6 separate regions of the Homo sapiens genome follow, and all the other regions are linked to region 4. The links are contacts of gene promoters, found by promoter capture Hi-C in blood cells and fetal thymus (Javierre and others, 2016). All regions are on one chromosome and are shown on one strand. The core of a region is centred on a gene start or on the middle of the fragment in contact, and the rest is flanking DNA. Distances in the headings are between cores, read along the strand shown.

What was found. Contacts are between HindIII fragments. The CHiCAGO score rates a contact against its expected background, and 5 or more counts as called.
Region 1: a fragment that was not itself captured here is called in contact with the fragment with the promoter of FBXW2 in region 4 in 8 of 17 cell types (total CD4 T cells, fetal thymus, naive CD4 T cells and 5 more); the score reaches 9.6 in total CD4 T cells.
Region 2: a contact is called between a fragment that was not itself captured here and the fragment with the promoter of FBXW2 in region 4, in 5 of 17 cell types (total CD8 T cells, naive CD8 T cells, non-activated CD4 T cells and 2 more). The highest score is 7.2, in total CD8 T cells.
Region 3: a contact is called between a fragment that was not itself captured here and the fragment with the promoter of FBXW2 in region 4, in 2 of 17 cell types (total B cells and naive B cells). The highest score is 5.9, in total B cells.
Region 5: a contact is called between a fragment that was not itself captured here and the fragment with the promoter of FBXW2 in region 4, in 3 of 17 cell types (naive CD4 T cells, total CD4 T cells and non-activated CD4 T cells). The highest score is 6.2, in naive CD4 T cells.
Region 6: a contact is called between a fragment that was not itself captured here and the fragment with the promoter of FBXW2 in region 4, in 12 of 17 cell types (total CD4 T cells, naive CD4 T cells, naive CD8 T cells and 9 more). The highest score is 14.0, in total CD4 T cells.

What each region holds. Positions count from the first base shown.
Region 1 is chr9:121,201,057-121,204,550 of GRCh38, forward strand. It overlaps RAB14 (RAB14, member RAS oncogene family), which reads right to left and starts at 813. Exons shown (of 8, transcript NM_016322.4): 1 at 583-813. It also overlaps a transcript of GSN not described here and the pseudogene RN7SL181P. RefSeq lists silencers at 1-244, 265-734 and enhancers at 427-926, 745-964, 1,235-1,394. The HindIII fragment of the contact is 7,258 bases long and covers 1-3,494 here.
Region 2 is chr9:121,162,457-121,166,106 of GRCh38, forward strand. CNTRL (centriolin) reads left to right here. Exons shown (of 44, transcript NM_007018.6): 35 at 2,487-2,644. Among named protein-coding and RNA genes, the nearest start is that of RAB14, 38 kb to the right of the region's middle. The HindIII fragment of the contact is 3,394 bases long and covers 1-3,228 here.
Region 3 is chr9:121,263,646-121,267,193 of GRCh38, forward strand. It overlaps a transcript of GSN not described here. Among named protein-coding and RNA genes, the nearest start is that of GSN, 2.7 kb to the right of the region's middle. The HindIII fragment of the contact is 6,397 bases long and covers 1-3,548 here.
Region 4 is chr9:120,791,476-120,795,337 of GRCh38, forward strand. It overlaps FBXW2 (F-box and WD repeat domain containing 2), which reads right to left and starts at 1,941. Exons shown (of 8, transcript NM_012164.4): 1 at 1,879-1,941; 2 at 1,674-1,782. B3GALT9 (beta-1,3-galactosyltransferase 9) reads left to right here and starts at 1,992. Exons shown (of 3, transcript NM_001386823.1): 1 at 1,992-2,447. RefSeq lists enhancers at 1,642-2,272, 2,335-2,434, 2,865-2,954. The HindIII fragment of the contact is 2,176 bases long and covers 1,115-3,290 here.
Region 5 is chr9:121,094,533-121,098,449 of GRCh38, forward strand. CNTRL (centriolin) reads left to right here. Exons shown (of 44, transcript NM_007018.6): 5 at 356-486; 6 at 1,890-2,031; 7 at 3,854-3,917. Among named protein-coding and RNA genes, the nearest start is that of CNTRL, 22 kb to the left of the region's middle. The HindIII fragment of the contact is 686 bases long and covers 1,242-1,927 here.
Region 6 is chr9:121,047,426-121,051,258 of GRCh38, forward strand. C5 (complement C5) reads right to left here and starts at 2,850. Exons shown (of 41, transcript NM_001735.3): 1 at 2,757-2,850. The coding sequence starts at 2,821. The HindIII fragment of the contact is 2,865 bases long and covers 771-3,635 here.

The sequences.
Region 1 (3,494 bases), core at 670-3,169, 410 kb after region 4:
GACCCCGGCCCCGGCCCGGCCCGGCTGCAGGGCCGGGCTCCCCACATCGACAAGGACACCGGAGCTGCCCCGAGACGCCAAGAGGGCTGCGAAGAGCTGCCTTTGTACTCAGAGCCAGACGCGGCCTACGGGACGGGACCGCCACGTCTGGGGCTTGCGGGCTGCAGGGCGGCGCGGCACGCGTGGGTACACCCTGCGGGGGCGGGCTGCGGCCGCGGGGAACAGCGGCGAGAGGGGGGCCCGCGGGAGATGCGGTCCTGCCCAGCCGCGCCGAGAAGGCGGGGAAGGCGAGGCCGGAACACACCCTTCCCTGCACGCCTCGGAGCGCCCCGCCGGTTGGGGAGGGCAGGAGGCTCAGGCCGGAGCCGCGCAGGGGACACCTCCGCCCCCGCCCAGGAGTCCTGTCAGGCCGGCGCCGCGGCGCTCACCGCCGACCCACGGGCTAGCCACGGCCTGACGGGGCCTGGCCCCGGGGCGCCGCCCGCCTGCGGCCCAGTCTCCACCGTCCCCACACACGCCCCTCTGAAGAACCCGGCGCGAGGAGGTATCAGCCGGCCGGACACTACGGAAGGCCCGGGTTACCTGGGGGGTTGCTGGTGGCTGGGCAGCTTTCCGGGCGGGAGGGGGGCGTCAGGACCAGGAACAGGAGTGCGGACGCAGCGGGAGAGGGGGCGGGGGCGGTCGACCGAGGCGCCGGCAGGTACACTGGCAGGCCGAGAGGTGCAGACGCGCCGGCAGCAGTAGCGGCAGTAGCAGTGGCAGCGGTGACTGCTCCTGTGCTCCCTCAGTATCTTCCTCGGGCTGGTCCAAGATGGCGGCGCTCCCTGCACAGGGTTTCCTGTCACCCTCGCAATGGGCCGGACCACAAAAGAAGGGGGAGAAGATGCGCGCGCAGCTGGCGGAGCCCGGAAGAGGGTGGCTGAGGCCAGCCCGCTAGCCACGCCCCTTCCTCAGCCCTCACCTCTGGACTTGTCGCGCCGCCGCTGAGGCCCGCCCCACGGGCGCTCGCGCCCGGAGGGAAGGTGGAAAGCGCGTATGCGCAAGCGCAGTCGCGTGTCCTCGCCTCTTGGGGGAGCTACTGCGCAGGTCTGCGTGGAACCTGGTGGGGTGCGCCTGCGTCTTGGAGAACTAGGGTTGTCGCTCGTGGAGACTTTTGAACAATTTTTAAAGCCAACATTTACCACTTATTGGACGCTTACCGTATACTGGCCACCATGCTAAGCATGCATTTACTGCATTCATTCAACGTGTATTTATGGGGGCATTTACTGTATATACCGCTGTATGCTTCGTATATACCGGTCCTGTCCAACAAACGTCGGAGGCACGCATCCCCATTGTATCCATGGAGAAACTGAGGCTCAGGTTGGTCAACTCTCTTGTCCAAGATCACGCAGCTAGGAAGTGACCCTGCATTTCATCTCTATTTTGACTTCACTTTGGGGTTGCCTTTGACAGGGTGAGAGAAATGTGATATTTTTCACAATTTGTCTACCACCTGCCATCTTCCAACTTGCTCTGCCATAATCACTGCCCCAGAAGGTTTCGTGCTTTTCGGGTGCAGGGACACGTTTTGACTTTCTTGGACCCTGAGCACTTTTGCCTTGTGGCTTGTACATTACACACACACATATATTTCACACACATGTAAGTTAAATATATGTATAAATATTTAACATATTTTACAACTGCATTGATATAAACATGACGTATCAATATTATATAACAAAATATTTTCTCTGACCTGAAAGTTCATTTTTTTCTTCTGACTTTAAAAGAATGTAAGCCGGCCGGGCGCGGTGGCTCACGCCTGTAATCCCAGCACTTTGGGAGGCCACGACGGGCGGATCACGAGGTCAGGAGATCGAGACCATCTTGGCTAACACGGTGAAACCCCGTCTCTACTAAAAATACAAAAAAATTAGCCGGGCGTGGTGGCGGGCGCCTGTAGTCCCAGCTACTCGGGAGGCTGAGGCAAGAGAACGGCGTGAACCCGGGAGGCGGAGCTTGCAGTGAGCCGAGATCGCGCCACTGCGCTCCAGCCTGGGCAACAGAGCGAGACTGTCTCAAAAAAAAAAAAAAAAGGAACGTAAGCAAGGAGGGCTGGTAGTCTGCGCCTGTAATCCTAGCTACTGGGGAGGCTGAGGAGAGAGGATCGCTTGAGCCCAGGAGTTCTGGGCTGTAGTGCACTGTGTCACTAGATAGAGTGTCTGCACTTAAGTTCAGGAGGGAGGGACCACCCAGGTTGCCTAAGGAGGGATGAACCGGCCCAGGTCGGAGATGGAGCAGGTCAAAACTCCCGTGCTGATCAGTAATGGGATCATACCTGTGAACAGCCACTGCACTCCAGCCTGGGCAACATGGGGAGACCCTGTCTCTAAAATAAATAAATATTCATTTTTGTTGGCCCCTAAAAGTATTGGAGGCCCTAAGCCCTGTGCATACTGTACTGTGCCTAATGGATAAGGTGGCCCTGCCTTAGTTCCCCACCCCCAAATTAAATCAATCTTTCTCTTAGCGTTCAGGACCTTTTATGAACTGGTTCTGCCATGAACAAGTGAGATTTCACTGTAAAAGTGTGTGCCAGTTTGTACATCTCATATTTTCAGAGACCTGGGTTCGAATTCCTGCTCTATAATCTAATGGTATGCAGTTGTGCATGTCACTTGATTTCTGAGATTGTCAGTCTTTTCTGCAATATGAAAATAGTAATATCTCTCTCAAATAGGTCTTTGTGAAAATTAAATGGGATAGTATATGCAAAATATCTGGTATATAATAAGAAATGGAAATGATTATTACATGATAATCTAATCTAAGGTGATATTGAAATCCTTTTGCAACCCTAGAGGTCTAGGCTTCTATTTCCACATTCTTTAATAAGTATAGTTTGTTGTCACACTTTAACATTTTTGAAACTAAGAAATTTGCCTGTGCCAAGTAAAGGAGAAAACTGTGAACCAATGATCATTAATTGCCCAGGTATGAACTTAGACCTGGCTAGTAAGTTTCCTTATAGCCATTATCACCTGAAGGGAGATCTTTATGTATAGCTGATGTTTATTCAACACTTACTATGTACCAGCAACTGTCCTAAGAATCATGCATATTTTCTCATTTAATCCTTACCACATCCGCATGAAGTCAGTACTATATTTACCCCATTTTATGAATGAAAAAACTGAGTGTCATACAGATCTAAAGTCGTTTAGGTGAAAATTGGGTGGGACTTAAATCTGGCAACATGTGACCTCAGGGCTGTACTAAGCCCTATTCCATTTCCTCCCTTATTTGCTCTTGTTTCACAATAGCCAGCTTAAATGCAGGTCCCTAACTGCTGCTTTCCTATGTGAAAGACATTACACTTTGATGCAGCTTTGAACAGAAACACTCTTGTGGATGCAGAGTGCCTATCACATGCTAAGGAATGCAATTAAAAAACAGTAGGAATGGTCAATTCTTTTAATAAGTCCCAGAATTTTCAAAGTGAGGAG
Region 2 (3,650 bases), core at 282-2,781, 370 kb after region 4:
AGCATTTTTTTAAAATCTATTTTGTTTTTTTTAAGTAAAATGATACATGCTGGAAATAAATGGAGATATATATCTTGTTCATGGACCAAAAGACAACATTGTTAAAGATTTAGTTCTGTTCAAATTGATCTCTAGATTCAAAACAGTTAACAATTAAAATCTCAATAGCCTTTCCTTGTGGAAATTGACAAGCTGGTTCTAAAATTATATGAACCTAGAATCGAATTATTCTAAGACCTAGAATAGAATTTATACAATTTTTTAGGTATGACACCAAAACAACTTTTAGAAAGTAGAACAAAAATTTAGGACTAACACTACCTGATTTGTAACACTTTTATAAACCTGTAGTAATCAAAACACTGTGGTATTAGTGTAAAGATAAACACATAGATCAATGGAACAGAATAGAAAGTCTAGAAATAAACTGACATATATGTGAACAACTGATTTTGATAAAGATAAAAAGGCATCTTTTTCAGTAGAGAAAAGATGGTCTTTTAGAAAAATGTTGGCTGAAACAATTGGATATACAAAACCAAAAAAAGAATCTCAATTCATACCTCACTATGTATAATATATAAATATGAATTTAAAATGAGGCCAGGCACGTTGGCTCATGCCAGTAATCCCAGCATTTTGGGAGGCCGAGGCAGGAGGATCACTTGAGCCCAGGAGTTTGAGACCAGCCTAGGCAACATAGAAAGACCCTGTCTCTGCCAAAAAAAAAAAAATAATAATAAAAATAGCCAGGTTGGGAAGCTGAGGTGGGAGAATTGTTTGAGCCAGGGAGATTGAGGCTGCAGTGAGCCATAATGATACCATTGCACTCCAGCCAGGGTGACAGAGTGAGACCCTGTTTCAAAAAAAAAATATATATATATATACATATTTATTTTATATTTATATATAGGACCATAAACATATATGTAAAACCTAAATATAAAACTTCTAGAAGAAAACATAAAACATAGCAGAAAACTTTTGTGACCTTGGAGTGGGCAAAAATTCTTGGTATGACACCAAAAGCATGATCCATAAAATAATAAATTGATAAAATTAGACTTCAAAATTTAAAACATCTCCTCAAAAGACACAAGGTAATGAAAAGATATGTCACAGGTTGGGAAAAAAATATTTGCAACCCATGTATCTGATAAAGGACTTGTATTCAGAATACATGTATAAAGAACTCTCAAAACTCAATAAGAAGACAACCCAGTTATTTAAATGGGCAAAAGATTTGAATAGACATTTCATTACAGAAGATAAATGGATGGCAAATAAACACATGAAAAGATACGCAGGATAATTAATCATTAGAGAAATGCAAATTAAAACCACAGTGAGATATCACTACACACCTATTAGAACAACAGCCATACCAAATGTTAATATTAACCAGGAACTTTTTTTTTTTTTTTTTGAGATGGAGCCTCGCTCTGTTGCCCAGGCTGGAGTGCAGTGGCGCTATCTTGGCTCACTGCAAGCTCCACCTTCCGGGTTCACGGCATTCTCCTGCCTCAGCCTCTTGAGTAGCTGGGACTACAGGCACCCGTCACCACGCCTGGCTAATTTTTTGTATTTTTAGTAGAGACGGGGTTTCACCATGTTAGCCAGGATGGTCTCCATCCCCTGACCTCGTGATCCACCTGCCTCGGCCTCCCAAAGTGCTGGGATTGCAGGCATGAGCCACCGCATCTGGCCGGAACTTTCATATATGATTGAGGGGCATGTAAAATGGTATTAAGTAACTGTTAAACTTTGGAAGACAGTTTAACAGTTACTTAAAAATCAAACATACGCCAATCGGAAGATCTAGCCATTCCACTCCTAGGTATTATATTTATTCAAGAGAAATGAAAGCATATTTCTACACAGTATATATGCTAATGTTCATGACAGCCTTATTTGTAATAGCCAAAAACTAGAAATGACCCAAATTGTCTATCACCTGGTAAATAGATAAACAAATTGTGGTATATCCACACTGTAGAATACTACTCAGCAATAAGAAGGGAATGAAGTATTGATATACACAACATGGATGAATCTCAAAGTAACTACGTTGAGTGAAAGAAGCCAGACCAAAAGCAAGTCCAAACTGTATGACTCCCTTTATGTACTACAATACATGCTCATGCATGTCTGCTATATGGACAGATCCTACTGTACACACAATTGTTTTCTACTCTTTCGATTGTCACAGCTCCATTTTTATCAGATTTTTGGAATTCTGAATGTTATCCATGTTTTTAATCCATGATTTTTATAAAACTTCAATTTAGTGAGTCAGTTTTTGAAAAAAGTCTCCACTTAGAAAGCTGATAATAAGATTCTGAAAATGAGTTGAGTCTTAAATTTTGTGAAGATTTATAATCATTTATACTTTCCATAACTGTATGTTGTGAAAGGATAACACTGTTCCTCAGTCATCTCCTGTGTGTGCTTGTATATTTGACAGTCTGACTTACTCTCTGTGGTAGGGTTTTAGCAGCAGCAGAAGAAAATAGCAAAATGGAGCAATCAAACTTAGAAAAGTTGGAATTGAATGTCAGAAAACTGCAGCAGGAACTAGACCAACTAAACAGAGACAAGTTGTCACTGCATAACGACATTTCAGCAATGCAACAGCAGCTCCAAGGTATAAGGCAGCAAAACAGTGAAAGTGTGTGATTTCCTTGCCCTTCGTTAGATTCTTTGATTTTTCTTACGACAAGTAATTCCTGCTAATGAGCATGGTGTTTCTTTCTAAAATTAGATTGTGGTAATGTTTGCACAACTTGGAATATACTAAAAGCCTTTGAATTGTACACTTTAAATAGGACATGATATGTGAATTTTATCTCAATAAAGTCAGTTAAAAAAAAAAACCTAATTCATGTTCCTTAGAGAACAATTTTAAAACAGCAAAAAGAAATAAAAATTGCTGTTGACCTCACTCCTCATAGATTCCTAGTAACAGTTTGGTGAATATCCTTCCAGATTTTTCCTAGGGGTGTGTCTAGTTTGAAAAACAAAAACAAAGATGTAAATAATGAAGATTTTAAAATTACCAAATGTTTATAAATATGATAATTTATTTAGAAGAAATTGCTGAGTAATTCTAGCTAATAATATACTTGTTGAACATTTTTTATATCCTTGGTATTTCATTTTCTCACTTAATCCTCATAACATTTTTATGAGATAAAAATTATTTTACTCATTTGTAAATAAGGAAACTGAAGCTTAGTTTTCTTGTGACTGCTTAAATGAGAAGTGACTTGCTAGAGGTCACACAGCTAGTAATTGACAAAGCCAATATAGATAAAAAATTTATTCCCAAATTGCCTTCCTGAAAGGTTAAGTTTCTATTTCTACCAGCAATGCAGAAGGTAGCTGTTTTTAAACACCTAACATTAAGTATTATCTGTAATTTTTTCGTTGTGAGATTTTGAACATGAAAATCTTTAAAAACCTGAGCTCCAAGCCCAAATCTGGATTGTGCATGTAACTCTCTTTTGGCCTTTAATGAGATAGTGTGGCATAGTCATACATGTAACAGGAGTAAGCTTAAAACAACTTCTCTACTTTTTGGGAATGCTAATGGGAATCTGTACAGTAAATACGTATGTATTTCTTATTTCATGAGAATGTCATTTCTTTAG
Region 3 (3,548 bases), core at 712-3,211, 470 kb after region 4:
TTTGGTAGGCTGAGGCAGGTGGATCACCTGAGGTCGGGAGTTCGAGACCAGCCTGACCAATATGGAGAAACCCCGTCTCTACTAAAAATACAAAATTAGCCGGGCGTTGTTGCGGGTGCCTGTAATCCCAGCTACTAGGAGGCTGAAGCAGCAGAATCGCTTGAACCTGGGAGGTGGAGGTTGCGGTGAACCGAGATTGCGCCATTGCACTCCAGCCTAGGAACGAGAGGGAAACTCCATCTCAAAAAAAAAAAAAAAAAAAAATCAGGTCTCATGAGAACTCACCATCATGAGAACGGCATGGGGGAAACTGCCCCCATGATCCAATCACCTCCCTTCCACCAGATTCCTTCCTTGACACATGGGGATTATGGGGATTACAATTCGAGATGAGATTTGGGTGGGAACACAGAGCCAGACCATATCAATTTATAATTTACTTAATTATAAGTTTATATAGATTGTTATTGAAGGCTGTGCTTAATACAGCCTTAATACAGCTGGGTGTAAGAATGCATGGAAATTTGGCCAGGTGTGATGGCTTACTCCTATAATCCCAGCACTTTCAAAGGCTGAGGTGGGAGGATCTCTTGAGCCCAAAAGTTTAAGACCAGTCTGGTAACATAGAGAGACTTCATCTCTACAAATAACATAAAAATTAGCCAGGCCTGGTGGGATGTACCTGTGGTCCCACCTACTTGGGAGGCTAAGGCAGGAGGATTGCTTGAGCCCAGAGGTCAAGGCTGCAGGAAGCCATGTTTGTGCCACTGACTCCAGCCTGGGTGACAGTGAAATCTTGTCTCAAAAAAATCCACAAAAATTCATGGAAATTGAGCAATCAGTTCGTAAGAAAACAACACTAAACACACTAAATCAGTTCTTAAGAACACAACACTAGCACAACACTAAAGGGGACCGAGGCTGGAGAAAATAACAGTCTCCTTTCCTTCTTCCAGCTCTGTCTTTCTCTGACCTCCACACCTTTGCTTATTCTGTGCTCTTAGCAGAAGATGCTGTTCCCTTCCTCACCTCCACTCTTATTCTTTCCATCCTTTCAAGGCTGACTGAATCCAAGCCGTTGTCTCTGCTTGGCTTCCCCTCCCCTTTTCTCTGGGAAGTGCACCCCCTCCACCCACAGGTTACAGTGGGAGCAGCCAGGTTTGTGCAGTAGGACCCTGTCACTCGGGCCAGAGTTAATTAGATAAAGGGTAGGCATCTGATCCAACTTAGAATGTGGACTACAAACAAAGATTCCAGCTTGCTGCTGGTAAAAGCCATTTTCTGGAAAGCAGAAATGCTTGTGTGATGTGAGCAGACAGGCAGAGATGAAAGATGGGGGAGAGAGTACTTTCTGGGTTCCCTTTAGTACTCAGGTCCTGCTTGTGGTCTGATCCTGAGGCCCAGCTGCACCCCTGCCCTAGTGTTCCATGGGATATTTCAGGATCTCCTGAGAGTGCTCTCTCAAGTAATCCCTTGTATGAAATCCCTGTCTCATCCTCTGCTTCTAGGGACAAACTACAAGGCATTCGATGCTCAACAAATACTTGTGCTGATAACTTCTCTTTCTGAAGCCAGCTCCAGGAGAGGTCTGTAATCAGAAGAGCCCCTGAACCCTGAAGCCTCCTGGGCTGCCCAGCCCAGGCATCTCCTCTGTGAGTTTTGCGACACCCTTCTAGTCATTTAACGAGCCTCATTGGCTTTCTCTGTGAATACGATGGAAGATGGCCACCTCAAAATGGCAGCCTTGGCCTTCAGAGATCATTGGTCCTCACAGACCCAGTTAATTAACCATGATTGTCATGTCTCAACTTCCAGCTCCAAATTCTAATAGTCCAGCTTTTTTCTGCCGTCCACTCCTCATGCTGTCAACTGTGTTGTGGGGGAAGGTTACAGTACAAACCTGGGTGCAAGTGAGGGCCATCCCCTTGGGTGGGAAGAGGCGTTCTCAGAGGAGAGAGCAGGTACCCCCAGATTGTCTAATGCCTGGCCTGTGTGTGGCCTTCATTTCTCCCCAGCCTCACTCTGGGAAGGAGGTGGTCTTCTGGCAAAAGAAGATATCAAAGTTCTTCCATCAGAGGAGATCCTTATCAGCAAGACATTCACTCTGAGGTGAGGATCCAGGACAAACAGGCCTTACCTTACCTAGATCCAATGGGGGGAGAAGTACAAAGAGGTATCTAGAAAGGAATGAAGACAGGATACCAAGAAGACTTCTAGGCATCCATGAAAGGCAGACTTGATATATCCTGCCAGCTATAAAATACACATGTTGAGTCATAAAGCAAAGCACCAGGAGATTTCTAGAAGTGTTCCTAGAGGAGCACTCCCATGTAAGTATTGGTTATCATCATCACAATCATCATCAATCAATCATCATCATCATTATCTTCATTATCATTTCTAATGATTCCTGGTGATACCCTGTTCCCATGTTCCTCTCCAGCCACCAAATGGAGCAATTACAGGGTTATGGGTAGGCATCTGACCCAGCTTAGAATATGGAACCTTAGATCTAGCTTAGAATGTGAACCCTTTTGCTCTCCTGGCCTCAGTTTCTCCATCTCTAAAGGGAGGAGTTGGAGCAGACATTCTCCAATGTTTCCTCCATCGTGATGTGGTATTCTCCAGTTCTATGGGGACACAGATTCAGAGTTCCACCTCCCTTTGTCTGAGAGCAGTTGCTGGGGCTGGAAATGATATGTTAGATAATTCCAAGGCATGTGTATGCCGGGGCTTGTAATCAAAGATTCCAGAGCCAAATAAGCCTGTGTTTTTGCTTTTCTCCCCAGCAGCCTTGCATTGGGCCCCAGGCAGCCTCTGGAGAAAGCAGAGAGTAGCAGAGATGGTGTGAGCCTCCCTGCGGGGTGGATACCTTGCTTGTATTCTCAGAGAAAGTGGAACTGGGCAGAATTTCCCAAGCCAGGAAAGGTGGCAGAGTGTGACATAAGACATTGAGCAAAGAAGCGAGGGCCAAGGACTCAGGCATAGAAGAGTAGACTGCACAGTATCAGTAGTGTGACCTCCAGAGAGTACTTAACCCTTTCTGTGGGCTTGGCCTGCTCATCTGAAAAATACACATGGTAATGCCTCCCTTAGGAGGCCAGGTAGGGAGGTGAGAATTAAAGTCGGTAATACGTGGGAAGCCCAGAGCATGGCATGAGGCATTCAAGAAATGGTTCTTGTATTTACTGGTGTTGAACAAAGAGAGAATGGCAGGAGGAAGAGCCAGGGTGAGATTCCCTGGGTCCTGTGGCTTCCCTGGCTGCTATTCAATGGAAAAACCAGGGAGTGAGCACTGTGCTCTTGGCTTCTGTGCTACTTAAACAACAGCCTTTTCTGCTCTGATCCCCAGCACCCGGCAATTACTGACTCTAGTACATTTTACCTTGTGTTAAGAGGGAGCTTTACCCTGGCTGAACATGGGGCTGCTGCCAGCACCCAGGCTGGGAATGGACATCTCTGTCATGTGGTGCAGTCTCCTGTGGAGTGTGTGAATCCTTCCAAACCGGAGTCACGCGGCAACTCCAAAAGTCCTGGGAACTCATGTG
Region 4 (3,862 bases), core at 691-3,190:
CATCATCCAACTTGAAGGGTGAAACTCAGAAATATAGCAGGGACATGCTTAGCACAGTGTACAGTCTAGCGGGTAAAAACTCAAATGGTACTTTTTGTTAGTTTTACTACTATGAACACCTGGCAGTAAAGATTTCTGTGACACTAAGGGTGGAATGGACATGACCACTAACATCTCTTTTGACCCTATCATCTTATCACTAAGTTTCTCTTCAAAATACCTGGAAGAAAAACTCAAGGGCTCAAACTTACTAGGGGTTTAATTTTATAAAGAAGAGCACCTGTTTATTGGAGGCTCTAGTTTCCCAGTAGGTGCCTTATTCTACCCACATTCCCTGCTGTTTGGCCCCCTTACCCTACGTCCCTACCCCAGAGTTAACATTCAACTTGCCCTCTTGCCTTCAGTATCAATAATCACAAAGTGGGTCATGCAACAAAAAGACTCCTAAATTGGAAAATGAGAGCCTGGGTTTGGTCTCAGGTTCTGCCATTAACTCCCTATGTTACCTAGGCAACTCACATATTTATATTGGTTTTAAAGAAAAAGTACCACTGGTAAACATTATCTCATTTCATCTTCATAACCTCATGGAAGGTATCAGTAATGCCGCCCTTAACTAACATTAATGAGGAAATTTACGGCTCAAGAAGTGGAGTGGCCTTCCCAGAATGGCACAGGAAGTAGCAGGCTCAATATTTTGCCCAGTACCCATTCTCCCAAAACCTATACTCAGAGGTATTAGAGACAGGACCTTCTGGAAAACAGTGTAAATGTGTTTTCCCCTCCTCCTCTATCAGAACCTGGCCTAGTCAAGAGTGAAAGCAACATAATTGTTAGTGGTAGAGGGAAGGAGGCTTCATTTCCCCCTTTTCTTATCAAACAAAGAGCACAGAGGCGCTGAAAATGTATACACACCTATAAACTTACATATGCATAAAATGTATTCTGAATATTCAAGAAACTGATAACCCTGGTTGCCTCCAGAGAGAACTGGAGAGCTGCAGAATAGGAATGAGGGGTCCCTTTTTATTGTATACCTTTTAAAACTGAAAACCATGTTAAGTATAATATACTATCAAAAAATAGCCTTTAGTTTTAAGGTGAATTTTTTTAAAGCTTTGAAAGAATACAAATAATGTTTATAAAATATGTGTTCTGCAACTCCACTTGTTGCTGGGTGACCTTGGGCAAATCACTTCACCTGTCTCATGCCCTGTTTCCTCACTTGTAAAATACAGCCAAGAGCATTACCTACAAGGGTTTTTATGAGGGTTAAACAAGACAGTGCAAGTAAAGCGTTTAGCACAGTACTCGGCACGCTGTAAGCCTACAGTAAATGTCAGTTACCATTATTACTTAGCATTAATATTGTTATCTTTGCTTTACTTCAAGCAGCACCCCACATACACACCTGTTTTCATGGCATACCCACAATTATGGCGCAGTATAGCGCTTTGTACTTCATAAACCACCTCATCACACTTCATCGTCTTTCAAACGTTTGGTAGCCCTGGGACATCACTGTTAACTCATTTCGCAGCTAAGGAAATGGAGGCAGTAGGAGGCAGTAACTCCAAAACCCTGTTTTCCCGTCTCTAAAATCCAGATCCCATCAACCCATTCGTTGCTCCCAGGTCCCTTGCTCTCGGAATCGTGTTCCGCGCGGCACTGACCTGAGCGAGCGCCCCGGGGCCCGGGACCTCGCGCCGGGTTCACAGCTACTAGGCACGCTCGGACCGCCAGAGCCTTGCAGCGGCCGGGTCCGCTCCGCAGCCATGGCGCCTGCAGGGAAAGAAAAACAGCCAAGGCGCGGCGGGTCAGCAGAGCCGCGGGCGCCTAAGAGTCCCCTCCCCGACCGGCCCCGCCTCGCATACAGACCCGGACCTGCGGCCGCTGCTCCCGGTCCGCAGCCTCACAGGGGAGCGGCTTCCGGTGCTGCCTGCGTCATCTCCGCGCGTCCCTCAGCTCCGCGGCTCCCGGCGGAAGCGGCTGCACTTCCGGTCCCCGCCCGGAGGTGGGTGGTGGGAGGCTGGAGGCCGGGAGTAGGGGTGGGGAGAAGAGCGTCCCGGGAAGCTGAACGCGTGCCGCGCGGCCCTCACGGTGCTTAGGCTGGGTGCAACCTAGAACGGAGGTTCCTTTCGTACCGTACATCCAGGTTTGCACAGCGCGCTTATGTCCCTCCTCCAATCTGATCTTGCACCAGCTCTGCAGTAGTTTTTCTTATTATCCTCATTTTACGGAGGAGAGGGAGCTGTGGCTTAGAGAAGTTAAGAGACGTGTCCAAATTCATACAACCTGTTGGGCACCTCTTTATCCCGAACGCTGTTCTAGGGGATAGGGTTAGTGAACAAAAAACGCAAAAGCCCCTGACCGCCTGGGCCTTACATCTATTAGGAGGAGGAAGACAGATAAACTAAGGCTCGTGCAAAGGAGAAAAATAAAGCAAGGTAAGGAGGTTGTTGAATGAAAAGAGACAGTCAAGTGATGTAGATTTGAATGAATCACAACGTTTACACTCTGGCTGTGGCCCGGTTACTTAACCTCTCAGACTTTGCTTCATCTGCATAGCAATTATAGTGAGGTCCCCATCCGAAGGCTCTGAGGATTGAAGGAAATGAAGCATGCAAACCTTTTGGCGTCAAGAACTAAAACTGAGCTAAAAAATCCCACGCACTCTTTCTCAACATTTTTTGTGTACCATCTCACTCAGTTCCCACAACAACCCCACAAGCTAGTAACTATTATTAGGCCCCTTTTTAGAGATGGGGAAACTGAAATCAAAAGAGGTTTAGGCATCTTGCCTAAGGTCATAGTAAATGGCTGTCATAGGATTTCAACCCAAACCGACTTCAGAGCACAAGTTATCCTTTTTTTTTTTTTGAGGCAACGTATCACTCTGTCGCCCAGGCTGGAGTACAGTGACACGATCTTGGCTCACTGCAGCCTCGACTTCTCCAGGCTCAAGCGATCCTCCCACCTCAGCCTCCTGAGTAGAAGGGACCACAGGCGCGTGTCACCATGCCCAGCTAGTTGTGTGTGTGTGTGTGTGTGTGTGTGTGTGTGTGTGTGTGTATTTTTGTAGAGTCAGGGTTTCGCTATGTTACCCAGGCTGGTCTTGAACTCCTAGGCTCAAGTGATCCACCTGCCTGGGCCTCCCAAAAAGTGCTGGGATTACAGGGGTGAACCACAATGCCCAGCGCACAAGTTATCCTTGTTTCTCTGTAAGGGTTCCTAAGCCATACATGCATACACGCACATTCACATACATCTTATACCAACACTGTCCAATAAGCTTTTTGCCAGTGATGGAGTTGTTCTGTTGGTGCTGTCCAATAAGGCAGTCACTAGTCTCTTGTGGCTACTGAACATTTGAAAAGTACCTGATGTAAATGAACTAAATTCTTAATTTTATTTAATTTTAATTTAATAGCCACATGAGGCTAATGGCTACCATGCTTGATAGCACAGTCCAATAATATAGACAATAAGAGAGACACATATCCAGTAGATGGTAGAGCATGGCCAAGGTTCCAAGCATCCTGACTTCATTTAGGGTACTTGAAACATGGGAAATAAAAATTGATTATGTGGGGTGGAAGTCAACTACGGTGTCCTAAAAGTAAGGTCTCAAGAGAGCAAATTTGATTTGCTAAGCAACAGGATGTCACTCTAGACTTCTAAGTCAGAACGTGACTGATCACAGCATTATAAGACATTTAGGAAGACAGATATACAGATTGGATACTCTCTATGAAAGGGAAGGCAGTACCAGGGTAATCAAGAAAATCAAGCACCCATATCTCTTTGGAGCAAACATTCTCAACCCCAGTACAGTTTGATGAATCAAATTGAAAAGTCCAGA
Region 5 (3,917 bases), core at 335-2,834, 300 kb after region 4:
GGACACTAAAACCATAGCACTATCTTTTGGAAGAAAGGAGGGGAATGAGAGGGAGAGGTATGGCAAAAGTGAGGTAGAGGGAATGACAGTGAGGGAAATCTTGTTGGATAGTCTTGAGCTTCTTAGTATATAGACAATGTTGTTGTCAACTGAAGGGCAAAGAGAGTTTGGTAGCTTGAGTAGAGTTATTACTCCTAGTCAAGGAGAGCTGCATCAAGGGATTCTCCAGGAGAGCAGTAAGGGTATATTATTTTCTGATGACTGATCAAACAGACCCTGATGCACATAAGTAAATGTTGTACTTTATGTCAAGTCATCTGTTGTGTAAAGTATTCATTCATTTGTTTCCAATTAGTATATTGAGAATTTGGAAAAATGTGTTAAACTTGAAGTACTGAATCTCAGCTATAATCTAATAGGGAAGATTGAAAAGTTGGACAAGCTGTTAAAATTACGTGAACTCAACTTATCATATAACAAAATCAGGTGAGTTATATAACAAAATCTTTAGGCAGCATTGCAGATAGCTTTGTTAGAGAGGTAGATTAATGTTATCCACATTACTGAAAGAATGATTTGACAGAAACAGAAGATATTTTTATCTTTATTCATCAATCAAATGAATGTCTGTCTCTTCACATATGGTAGGTAACTGTCTTTATGTTTTGGCATTACTGAAGTACAGAATAACATCTAGCATTATCAAAGAGATATATTTTTGAGCACCAAATTGTATCTTAATTTCATTTCTGACAGGAAGTTTTCCCAGATATTGTCTGTGATTTATTACCTTATTACATTAAGAATGTTGACATGAAGCAGAATGTTTTAACCCTGCCATTTTGACCCCCAAGATGTTCTAATCTGTTTTGATTCTGATGTTCTTTGCTTATTGCTACAAGAAATATGCTCTCAATCCTGTTTCCAATTCATAATATATATTACTGTGAGAAATAAACATACTAAAACTGACACTGGCTAAAACTTCATATAGAAAACTTGTTATAGACAAAATGATACAAGAATCAAATCTTGAAATTCTTAATATCTGCATGCTTTTCCCCCAAGTTAGACTTGGTAAATATGATGGCCAAGAAAATGACTAGCAATGGCAGAAGTTCTGATATGACAAAACTGAAATGAAAAAAAATGATTAATGAACCAAACCCTTATTATAAAATTTGTATAAAAAGTTGACTCTGATGAAAATATTTTCAGCAAAATAAAATTGAAAGTAGAGAAGCTTAGAAATATTTACCCAGTGTAGATAGAGGCTTTGAAGTATTTGTGCAGTATAGAAAATTGACCAAAGAATTAAATTGACAAATAAATTAGAAGTGACTTGGGAAAAACCTTCATCAATCAGAATTCATTAATATGTGTGATAAATGCTTTATTTAAAAGTTCTGGTTAAATTACTTATATTCCTAAATACAGTATCATCTATGGGCTCCCATATCCTGCTGGCATAGCTAATCTTTTTATGATAACTTAAGACAATAATTAGGAACATCTTTTGGACAGGAATGTAGCAGATAGGACAGGGTGCTATTGAGTTTCCCAGGTCTCCACTGGCTGTTTGCTAGTACTGTTCACAGTAGTCGGTGAGAATGCCATGGTCACATTTTTCTTTTCTATGTTATGGAGTTGCAAAGTCTAATAATAAGATTGATAGGATTCCTGGGCATAGTAATAAAAAGTTGGCAGTTTAGCTGTTCTGGTAAATTTGGCTTTAGCCACTTTTCTTTGTTCTCATTTATGAAAAGAGTTGATAAATTATCATTATGAAAAGTAATCTAACATGGAGCTAAAGCTGTTTATTCTAAAAATACAATGGAGAGACTCTATAATTGTACTCACTAAATTTTATTTTATCCTTTGCTTTCCAGCAAAATTGAAGGCATAGAAAATATGTGTAATCTGCAAAAGCTTAACCTTGCAGGAAATGAAATTGAGCATATTCCAGTATGGTTAGGGAAGAAGTTAAAATCTTTGCGAGTCCTCAATTTGAAAGGCAACAAGATATCATCGGTAAGTTATTCAAAATAGCAGGAATTTTTAGACTTGTTAAAAAATAAAAGATTAAAAATATCTAAGTTTTTTAAAAATGGGATTTCTTCTTTTAAAGATTTTGCTCCTTTGACTAAACACTAGATTCAGACATAGCCCATGATTTTCTAGATTAATTAAATACAAGCAGTCCTCATTTTGCATGGGTTCCTAGGTCAACCTAGGGTTGACCTCTTAGCATTTTTACATTTATCATTTCATGTAAGCCTCATAACATTCTTGTTAAGAAGGCAGTACAAGGATTATTTTTGTAACACTATGAGTTAGGTAGTAGCAAGTAAGGTCTAGGACAGGTTAAGTCCCTTATCTAGAGTCACATTTTGTGCCAGGATCCAGATCACTGAATGCCTAGAAGAAAGTTCTGGGTTTTTTTTTTTTTGACAGTATTAACTTCCAATTTCAAATTTACCAGTTTATTTTGATTATAATGTTAGGTGTTATAGGAGGTTGATCACTAGCTTTTCATAATAGAGCAACTTTGTTATGATTTACATATTTGGATGATGTTGTATATTTTTCTCTGGAATATAGTTTATGATTTTCTTATGGTATTTATTCACAGCTAGGTATTTAATAAGCATTTGCTTAGTAAATTTGTTAATTTATTTAAATTTGTATTAAAATTGGGAAAATTGTGCCATAATTTAATGAACATCAGTTGTAGAATAGAAAATGAAAGATGTGACTTCAAAGATGGGCCTCTATAGAATTGCCTTCCATGACCTTGGAGAATTCTTTAATCCCTCTAAAACCACTGTTTGGGGAAAACAATCCCTATACTGCCTCCTTTACAGGGGTATTATGGGGGCTCAGATGAAATGATAGATGTGAAAATGCTTTAAAAAAAACTTTAAAACACTAAATAAGTCTAAAGCTATATTCTTTAAGCCTTCACCAGTGGAGGCCAATAATAATAAGCAATATTCATTTAATGCCATGTTGTTAACAATACCTATGCTTTCTAATTTCATCCTGTGACAGTCAAGAGCCTCAGAGCCCAAGCCCAACCCCATGTTGTACAGCATCACCTTGGGGCTGTTGATGCTATGGGATGATGGGAAGAGGTAGCCATAGATCTAAAATTTGCCATAAATATTCCTGAAGTAGTTGATCCTTAGATAGTGTCAACTTAGTGTCAGCTGTGCAATAGGAAAATCAATAAATATTTATTTCTAATTTTGTATGATGTCCTCACCCCATTGATATTTGACATTGGCATTATGAAGAGTGCTGCACATTCACTTGGGAGAGAAGATTTATTTGTACTAGCTATTTGGAGTACTGTTTCTCAGCCTTTTTAGGTTGAGAATAAACTATCTGAATAAACTGTCAATTATAGCACAGTTATCTGAAGATTTACCAAAATATTTTTTATAACTATTCATTTTTTTGATTTGTTAAATCAGTATAATGAAAAGACAAAGTTGAGAGTTACACAAACTTGAATTCAAATCCTGTTTCATTCACTTACAAGGCTTTGAGCTTTGGGCAAGTCGCCTAACTTCTTTGATCCTGAATTTCTTCATCTGTAAAATTAAGATGATACTTACATGATAAGTTGTTGTGAGGAGTCACAAATGAAATAGTGTATGGAAAATACCTAATACTGCCCAAATACACTATAAATACTCATATACTCCCTTTCCTGACACCACTACTTTTGGGTAATTGGCTTCATGAATAGATTCCTTGCCATGTTAAATTTCCTTGATTTGTAACTTCCTTTAAGTATGTTATGATTTTTAAATTAAATTATACCAATACTAATGTTATATCATTTCAGCTCCAAGATATAAGCAAGTTGAAACCGCTTCAAGATTTGATTTCTCTGATCCTAGTTGAAAATC
Region 6 (3,833 bases), core at 953-3,452, 260 kb after region 4:
AATATAAACTGGATTACTAAGTGTATATCACAAGAGTATCTAATTTGAATAGCGAGAACTACATACGCTATTACATAGGAAAAAAAAGTGTTTTAACCCAAAAGGGCATAGTGATCGACTAATTCAAGTGGCCCAACAAGCTTGGAGGGCACCCACCACCCCACCTGGCAGAATTATTCCAGGCTTCTGCCAACATTGTGACATTTTAAGAGTCTGGTAAAAGCAGGAAGTTTTTAGTAACAATGGAATTAATTTATCAGCAATTAAATCCTTTAAAGCATCTGACAGTTATCCTGCATTACAATTAATTTGGATCCACTTACAGGCAAATTACAAAAGAGAGGAAAGAATTTCCAGATTTCCAACCATCATCTGAATTCCCCTTCCCCACATGCCTAGTAGGAGATGGCAGAAAATGAGAGGAGTTCAGTTTTTATGATAATAAGATATATTTACTGAAATTTTGCCCTGTGATAAGGCACTATTCTGAATACTTTATTTGTATAAACTCATTGTGTCATTACAACCACTCTGTGAGGAACTATTACTCCAATTTTAAGGTGAAGAAACTGCTAATTAATTTTCCCAAGGCCACACATATAGGATTTATGAATTCTATAATTCACAAATTATAGAATTAGAAATCGAACCTGAGCAGCCCGTTTCCAGAATTAACATTTTCAACTGTTGTACTAAATGGAATTTATAAAGAGTTTTGTAATTAGAAAAATTTAGGGATATAAAGCTACTTTAATTTCAGTATTTATAGAAGCTTTATGTTTTTAAGTTTAGTATTGCTTTAATTTTGAATTGTGTATGGTAGGGGTCCCCAACCCCTGGGCCATGGACAAATACCAGTCCATGGCTTGTTAGGAACCAGGCTACACAGCAGGAGGTGAGCAGTGGGGCAAAGGAGCATTACCACCTGAGCTCTGCCTCCTGTCAGATCAGTGGTGGCATTAGATTCTCCTAGGAGCATGAACTCTATTGTGAACCGCACATGCGAGGGATCTAGATTGCAAGCTCCTTATGAGAATATAATGCCTGATGATCTGAAGTGGAACAGTTTCATTCTGAAACCATCCCCACCCCAATCCTGGTCCATGGAAACATTGTCTTCCACAAAACCTGTCCCTAGTGCCAAAATGGTTGGGGACTGCTGGTCTATGTGATGGTAGCCGTCAAGCAAAAATACATAGTGTTTAGAAGCCCCTAAAAGAATATTCTGGAACCACCCTTTATAAAGATTTTGGTTCTTATTGACTTATCAGTAGCATAATCTATCCATATAAATAATTTCATAGTTTTCTTTGTCTTTCAATTGCTGCAGAGGAGCAGGAGCTTGCAGAGAGGCAAGAATGTTATTTTGGCCTCTATCTGGAATGCTCTTTCCTCAAATATTTGCATGGTTTGCTTCCTCACTTCCTTCAGGCTCTGTTTGAGTGCAGCCTCCTTAAGAGAACCTTTCCTGGCCACATTTTAAAATAGTGCCCCATAATTATTTTTTAATTCTCATACTCTGCTTTATTTTTTTCTTCATAATACTACCTACCTGACCTTACACATTCTTTCATTGGTTCATTCATTCATTACTTGCTTCTCCCACTAGAATGCAAGCTCTAGGAATTGTCTTACCGTTTGCTATATCTGCAGTGCCTATCATATGTTTAGATGCTCAATAAATATTTGTTGAATCAATCAATCAACCAATTAATTAAAGTGATTGATTGCCATGTTGTAAATGGTACACTCTGACTTCTTCAGAGAAAGTGAGGAAATAATTTTTATTAAGGGCTAGTAGAAAGAATTCAGAATAAGTCTGGACAAGAATCATGGAACCCAGGTCCTAGCCCTAGTTCTGCCACCAATTTGAAGTCACTTAATTTCAGTCTCTCTAAGCCTTAGCTGCTCGTCTTTCAAAAAGAATAAAGGCAGGATGCTAAGGTAGTTGAGTGCTTGTGGCCATGTAAAAAGATCACAGATCAGAAATACGAGGGTGCTAAAAAAGAATGACATCCTAAGTATGTGTTTATATATAATATATTTACATGTATACATTTATGACAAAATGAAAAAAATTGAAGTGATAAACAGGAGACCTTAATAAAAATCCTGTTTCTCTCTCTCTAGAACTGTGACCTTTGGTCAGTCACTTCCCTTATCTGGACTTATTCTCATATATAAAATGAATAGGTTTGATTAGATGATCTGCAGTTACTTTTCAGTATTAAAATATTTCTAGATATAAGATCATTATTTTTAAAACATTACTTAAAATGCATATTATCTCAATAATGACACTAAAAATTGTGAAAAGTCAGCTCATAAATGTATGGTAGAAGTCACTACAACAACAGATTTTCAGATCACAGTATTAGATTGACTCCTAAATAACCCTGGTTTAACTGTGTATAGTCTATGAAAAACACAAAGAAAACTAAACACCAAGTTAAAATAAGCAAAAAATGTCAAGAAAGTTTATTATCTGGAGTTTCTTTTGTGCTTTTTTGAAGAGGAATTTGAATAATCACTTAACGTAAATTTTAATAAATAACAATTCCATAAAAGCTGTCATGTTGTTAGCTACTCATCAAATCAAAATGCTTCCATGACTTTCTCATTCAGAGATGATACTATTCACTTGCTGTTCTCAGAAGTAGCAAGTTATTTTCAAGTTAACAGAATCTGTTAAATTTAACTCTTCATTCGTCATAACTAAGATGCATTGAAAAATGAAGATAGCTTGTTTTACTTACGTTTGCTCCTGTCCCCAGGTTTTCCCCAGGAAGATTAAAAAACAAAGTATTCCCAAAAGGCCCATGGTTGGAGGTAGCAGGAAACCACGGATATAACACTTTTGAGGATAGTCTCCTTTTAAATAAACTGAACTTGAAGAATTCAGATAATCTGGTTAATTATTAATGTCAGAAAGGTGAACCTCTAAGTGGGAAAACTAGAATTGGAACTAAAACACCCTTTCATGCCCAGGAATACAGATAGGGAGTACTTTACAGGAACTTACACCCAGGGAATTTATTTTTATTAATACAAATAAAGGGACCCTAAAATGGGAATTTGGCACTATGAAGAGTGGCTCAAAGCTAGAAACCAGTAAGCCCATTGCTTTGGCCTTTCTTCTCTTGCCCAGGGCATTTGCTTTGATGTTGCATCATCTGCAAGCATACATCTGGCAGGTCCACTCTAATACTGATGAAGACCCACCTGGACTCAGTTTCACACTGAAATGATTTTAGAAGGGGCCTGGTTTAGACAGGGCTCACAAGATGATCTTTTTTTGGTGACCTGAATGGCAGTGTCCTTGGTGCTGCAAATGGTCTGAGCATAACCTAGCTCTGCAAAGGAGGTCTAGGGAATTGTTCCTTGGTCTGTCTCAGTCTAGAGAACACTAGGTGGAGGAAAGTTGTGACTGGCAATGAAAACGCCATGTGGAGGATGCTGTCGTCATTCTCTAAGTATTGGAGAATAGATATTCTCCAATATTTATTAAGGCATATACCACTCGTTCAAAGTTTGTCTTTATTCAGATATAGAATATCTTTCTTTTAAAGAAAACACATGTTATACTTTTCAGTGAGGATTTTAATAATTTTAATATAAGAGCTCCAGAAAAACAAAGCTTCCTATAACAATTGAGTCTAGTAATTAATTCACAATATACTAAAATTTTATCTTTATACTTTTTTTTTTTTTTTTGGAGACAGAGTCTCTTTCTGTCGCCCAGGCTGGAGTCTAGTGGCACTATCTTGGCTCAGGGCAACCTCTGCCTCCCAGGTTCAAGGCATTCTCCTGCCTCAGCCTCCCAAGTAGCTGGG